Regions from separate parts of the Homo sapiens genome. Here region 2 is linked to region 1. The links are contacts of gene promoters, found by promoter capture Hi-C in blood cells and fetal thymus (Javierre and others, 2016). All regions are on one chromosome and are shown on one strand. Each heading gives the region's core, a stretch centred on a gene start or on the middle of the fragment in contact. The rest is flanking DNA. Distances are from core to core; before and after follow the strand shown.

What was found. Contacts are between HindIII fragments. The CHiCAGO score rates a contact against its expected background, and 5 or more counts as called.
Region 2: a contact is called between a fragment that was not itself captured here and the fragment with the promoter of P2RY8 in region 1, in 1 of 17 cell types (total B cells). The highest score is 5.0, in total B cells.

The regions. Positions count from the first base shown.
Region 1 is chrX:1,535,646-1,538,636 of GRCh38, forward strand. P2RY8 (P2Y receptor family member 8) reads right to left here and starts at 1,540. Exons shown (of 2, transcript NM_178129.5): 1 at 1,276-1,540. The HindIII fragment of the contact is 32,946 bases long and covers 1-2,991 here.
Region 2 is chrX:2,523,379-2,526,366 of GRCh38, forward strand. No RefSeq gene overlaps it. Among named protein-coding and RNA genes, the nearest start is that of ZBED1, 24 kb to the left of the region's middle. The HindIII fragment of the contact is 8,308 bases long and covers 1-2,988 here.

The sequences.
Region 1 (2,991 bases), core at 290-2,789:
GACTTCTCATCCACGTTACGTAAAGATAACAACATGGGAAGAAACAACCACACACACACACACACACACAGACACACACACAGACACACACACACACACACACACAAACCCTTTTCTTTTTGGGAACAGAGCCACGTGACCATGGTTCCCCTTTATAGAAATGGGACCTAAAGCGCCACAGCAGGCCTTGTTGTGTGTGGCCTGAAATTCCCAGAGCAGCTCCCTCTGCCTTTTCTCAGCTTTTTAGGGGACAGATCTGACAAGACCCAAGGAATTGGGGTTTCTAAGCGGACCTGTACAAATGAGGTCTGAGGTGGCCGTGAGACCCGGGTCTGGGGTCTCCCTGGCACCGAGGGGGTGACGAGGGGCCACCGTGCTCATCCAGGCACCCATAGGGCTTTAAAACCCGTTTAATTTATGCTTACTCTTCCATTATTGGAACGCTAAGCATTTGGGAGTTATTTATATCCCACGGCTCAAGGTCATCGCCAAGGTCTCATTGCAAACATTGAAAAAACTGCAATCTCAGGCGTAAATGGGTTACGTGCAGCAGCCGCAGCTGCTTACCCTCTCTAAGGTTAACCTCAAGAGAGGCGCATTTCATGGAATGAGTTTTTTTTTGTTTTTTTTTTTCTAAACAGAGTCTCGCTCTGTCGCCCAGGCTGGAGTGCAGTGGCGTGATCTCTGCTCACTGCAAGCTCCACCTCCAGGGATCATGCCATTCTCCTGCCTCAGCCTCCCGAGTAGCTGGGACCGCAGGCGCCCACCACCAAGCCCAGCTAATTTTTGTATTTTTAGTAGAGACGGGGTTTCACCGTGTTAGCCAGGATGGTCTCGAACTCCTGACCTCAGATGATCCACCCACCTCGGTCCCCCAAAGTGCTGGGATTACAGGCACCTGCCACCACGCCTGGCTAATTTTTGTATTTTTAGTAGAGACGGGGTTTCACCGTGTTAGCCAGGATGGTCTCGAACTCCTGACCTCGTGATCCGCCCACCTCGGCCTCTGAAAGTTCATGGAATGAGTTATTAAAGGAAGGGTGGCTTGCAGCCCTGGAAAATTTGAGCATTTCTCCCCTAAGTGACGAAGCGGCTGTGCAAAGTCTTCCTCCCAGGAAATTTGCACTCCTGGTCTGCTCTAGCGTGAGGAGAACACGCCTCATGGAGTTTGCACCGTCTTCCCCCATGTTCTCACCGTACACGGACCCTCCCAGCGACCCTGTCTTCTCCCTTGACAGTGCAGGACAAGCATAAAAGTCCAGCTCGGCGGCTCACCTGTGCAGAAGCAGCGGCAGAAGTAGCAGGTGAGAGCTCAGAGGGTCTCCAGGTAACAGGATGCAACGCTTAAGTCGACGGCCGTGCCTCAGAGCCCGGGACTCGGGGGGCCAGCCACCAGCTTGCAAGCCGTGGTCACTCAAAGTGCTTGAGAAGGTGTTCGTGGGCGGCAGACGGCTGCCCTTCCAGTTCCATCTGTCCAGCAACCTTGCAAAGGCGGCCGCTTCGCTGGGTGGCCCACCGGCTGGCACGACTGTCTCCGAATGCAAATTCTGCAAACTCCACCTCCCAGCGCACCACCACGGTTGCGACTCAGGCTTAGGTGGAAAGGAAGTGTGTTGTGACATTTCCTCTGTAACTGTCTGAACACTCATGTGCAGGGCTGAGCCCACTGGAGTAACGTCGCTGTGTCTCTGGGCAGCACCGTTAACCGCCCACCTCCCTATCACTGGCTCGCAGGGGGCCCTACTCTTAAGAGAACCCTGAGAGTGAGGAAAAGAGGGAGAATGATTTTTCTAAATTTTGTAACCAGCAGTGAAGAGCCGTGGCATGCTCCAGAACCGATTCCTGTTTCTTCTGAAATAACAAAACAAAACAAAGAAAGAACAGAACACGTTTCCTTTTAGACTCTAAAGCTGTGCTCATTGCGACATCTCTTGGTACACAGCCAGACTGTGACAAGCGAACAGACCTTGGGCACTGATCATTCCGGCTCTCACAGTTGGTCACGGGCGCTGCAGGCTCATATCCTCAACATCCCATGGGGGATCGGCCAGTTTCAGGAATGAGAACCAGGTTTCCGAGCTCTGGTATCCTTGCTTGTGAGGAGCAACGGTTGGTTCTTGTCACTCGTGGGAGGAGGTTGAGAGGGAAGGATCTGTCACTGAGAAAGAATGAATGAATATTGAACCACTGCTCAGGGAAAAGACATGGTAGAATCAATCCCTCAAGCCAGGCTGGGTGTGGTGGCTCACGCCTGTAGTCCCAGCACTTTGGGAGGCCAAGGCGGGTGGATCACTTCAGGTCAGGAGTTTGAGACCAGCCTGGCCAACATGGCGAAATCCCGTCCCTACTAAAAACACAAAAATTAGCTGGGTGTGGTGGTGGACACCTGTAGTCCCAGCTACTGGGGAGGCTGAGGCAGGAGAATCACTTGAACCTGGGAGGTGGAGGTTGCAGTGAGCCAAGATCAGGCCATTGCACTCCAGTCTGGGTGACAGTGAGACTGTCCCAAAAAACAAACAAACAAACAAAAAGACCAGGCCTGCTGGCTCACGCCTATAATCCCAGCACTTTGGGAGGCCAAGGCGGGTGGATCACTTGAGGTCAGGAGTTCGAGACCAGCCTGGCCAACATAGCGAAATCCCGTCCCTACTAAAAATACAAAAATTAGCTGGGCATGGTGGTGGATGCCTGTAATCCTAGCTACTGGGGAGGCTGAGGCAGGAGAATCACTTGAACCCGGGAGCTGGAGGTTGCAGTGAGCCAAGATCAGGCCATTGCACTCCAGCCTGGGTAACAGAGTGAGACTGTCTCAAAAAAAAAAAAAAAGTCGAGGCCTGGTGGCTCACACCTGTATTCCCAGCACTTTGAGGTGCCAAGGTGGGCCGGATCACTTGAGGTCAGGAGTTCGAGACCAGCCTGGCCAACATAGCGAAACCTGTCCCTTAAAAATACAAAAATTAGCTAGGCGTGGTGGTGGACGCCTGTAATCCC
Region 2 (2,988 bases), core at 457-2,956, 990 kb after region 1:
GGCACCACCATACCTGGCTAATTTTTGTATTTTTAGTACAGATGGGGTTTCACCATGTTTGTCAGACTGGTCTCGATCTCCTGACTTCGTGATCTGCCCGCCTCGGCCTCCCAAAGTGCTGGGATTATAAGGGTCAGCCCCCACGCCCGGCCCCCAAACCCCATCTAATCATGAAGAAAACATCAGAAAAGGCCAGGGGCGGTGGCTCACTCCTGTAATAATTAAAAAATTAAAATTAAAAAAATCAGCTGTGGGCATGGTGGCGGGCACCTGTAGTCCCAGCTACTCAGGAGGCTGAGGCAGGAGAATGGCGTGAACGCGGGAGGCAGAGGTTGCAGTCAGCCGAGACTGCGCCACTGCACTCCAACCTAGGCGACAGAGTGAGACTCCATCTCAAAGAAAAAGAAAGAAAACATGAGAAAAATCCCAATAAAAGGACTTCCGTCAAAAGGCTTGCCCAGTGCTTTTCAAAGCTGTCCAGGTCATTCATCTGAATCAAGAAACGTCTGGAAAACTGTCCCAGCCAAGAGGGAACCCAGGTAGAAGTAATAACTAAACACCCTGTGGAACTGTGGGGCCTGTGAAAGGAAACTAACCCGGGCCCCGACAAGCTGGGAAGTGCCCAGGGCAAATCGGCCTCTCATTTTATTCAAGGTCACCCCTCTGCTTACTGAGATAGACGCATATTCTAATTGCCTCCTTTGGAGAGGCTAATCAGAAACTCAAAAGAAGCAACCATATGTTTCCCACCTACCTGTGACCTGGAAGCTCCCTCTCTGCTTCCAGTTGTCCCCGCCTTTCTGGAAGGAACCAATGGACTTCTTACATATATTGATTGATGGCTCATGTGTGCCTAAAATGTATAAAACCAAGCTGTGCCCCGACCACCTAGGGCACATGTCATCAGGACCCCATGAGGCTGTGTCACAGGTGCGCATCCTTAACTTTGGCAAATAAACTTCCTAAAATGATTGACAATTGTCTTCTAATTTTCTTGACTGACAGACCCTGGATGGGATCCTAAACATTAGAAAAAAACTAAAGAAATCTGAATAGGGTATGGGCTGGTTAATAGTAATGTATCAAGAGTGGTTGGTTAATTGCCACAAATGCACCGTACTAATTGAAGATGTTTATGACGGGGGTATAAAAGAGCTCCTTGTGGTATGTTTGAAACTTTTCTGCAAATCTGAAATCATTCTGAAACAAAAAATGTAACTTAAATCGACATTAAATGTCAAATTGCACTCTGTTAAAGAATCAAGATTAAGATTCAAGTTCCTCTCAATAAACTACAGATTAAAAACCCCTCAAAGGGCCGGGCACAGTGGTTCATGCCCTGTAATCCCAGCACTTTGGGAGGCTGAGGCAGGTGGATCACCTGAGGTCAGGAGTTTGAGACCAGCCTGGCCAACAAGGTGAAACCCCATCTCTACTAAAAATACAAAAATTAGCCATGTGTGGTGGTGTGTACCTGTAGTCCCAGCTACTCGGGAGGCTGAGGCAGGAGAATCGCTTGAATCCGGAGGTGGAGATTGTAGTCAGCTGAGATCGTGCCGTTGTACTCCAGCCTAGAGACAAAGCAAGACTCTGTGTCAAAACAAAAACAAAAACAAAAAACAAACAAACAAAAACCCTCCAACGATCTCCTCAATCTCTTCTAACTCTATGCATGAGAATCTGTAAATATTATAGCAGCAGGCAGCATTACAGAGCCCCAAAAGACCTATGTTCGTTCAACATGCCCTGATTCACTATTTCGCCCAAGGAGACTCTGATAGCAGAGGCGACATGTCAGTTCATCTTTTATTCAATGCAGAAGTGTCCCAGATTGATTCTGTCTTCAGAAACTGTGCTGACTGCAATACTCTAAAAACTGAGCCTATACCTGGGTAAGCTGGTTTTCTGTGAAACAAGTTTATAGGAGAAGCATCACAGATCACCCAGTGTTTAAAATATCACTGCATTCAAATATCATTATTTAAAAGAAATGAATACAATCATCATAATAAAAATGCAATCTTTCCAGCATGAGTTTCTGGGGAATCTGCATATTTTTGATCCTCTTGGGTCCTGTGTCATCCTCCCTGACACGGAGATAACATTGTAAACGTGAGGTTTTTGAAATTACGTAAGTGATATTCTGTGAAATATCAACCATAATGATTGTATGCAGTAAGTGTTCAATAAATACTAAATGTGATTTTTGTGATGTGCGATACATGTCAACGCTTCACTTTAAAATTGGTGGAATTACTCTAATAATTATTTTCCCATGAAAAATGTGGTATTTAGCACTTTTATTGGCATCTTACACACAGTGTGTCTGTTATTCCCCCAGACATTGTAGGTTAGTCTTCGCTTCCCTCCCATTTCCTCTCCTCTCCTCCCCTTTCCTTTTTCCTCACTCTCTTCCTCCCTTCCTCTCTCTCTCTCACCCTCTCTTTCCTTCTTTCTTCCCTCCCTCCCTCCCTTCCTTCCTTCTCGACAGGGTCTTGCTCTATCACCCAGGCTGGAGTGCAGTGGCACACTCACACCTTACTGCAGCCTCAAACCCCTGGGGTCAGTTTGTCTTTCCATCTCGGCCTCCTGAGTGGCTGGAACTATAGACAAGCACTCACCATACTCAGCTAAATTTTTTTATTTTTTGTAGAGCTGGGGGTTCTCACTATGTTGCCCAGGCTGGTCTTGAACTCCTGGGCTCAAGCAATCTTCCCACCTTGGCCTCCCAAAGCACTGGGGTTATAGGCATGAGCCACTGCACCCAGCCTGGGTGATAGAGTTATTTTTTTCTTATATTTCATCACATATCCATGCCTGGGTTACCTTCCATAGTGTTATTTTACCACAACGACAACAAAATTCCTTTAAAAATTTTTTTCTAGAAATCCATAAATACATATGTCAACAAAGTTAAGCTGTTGAGTTAAGCCTAGTTAGGTGAAGGTTTGCCTTAGAGGTAGTGTGTTTAGACTTGACTTGGGAAAA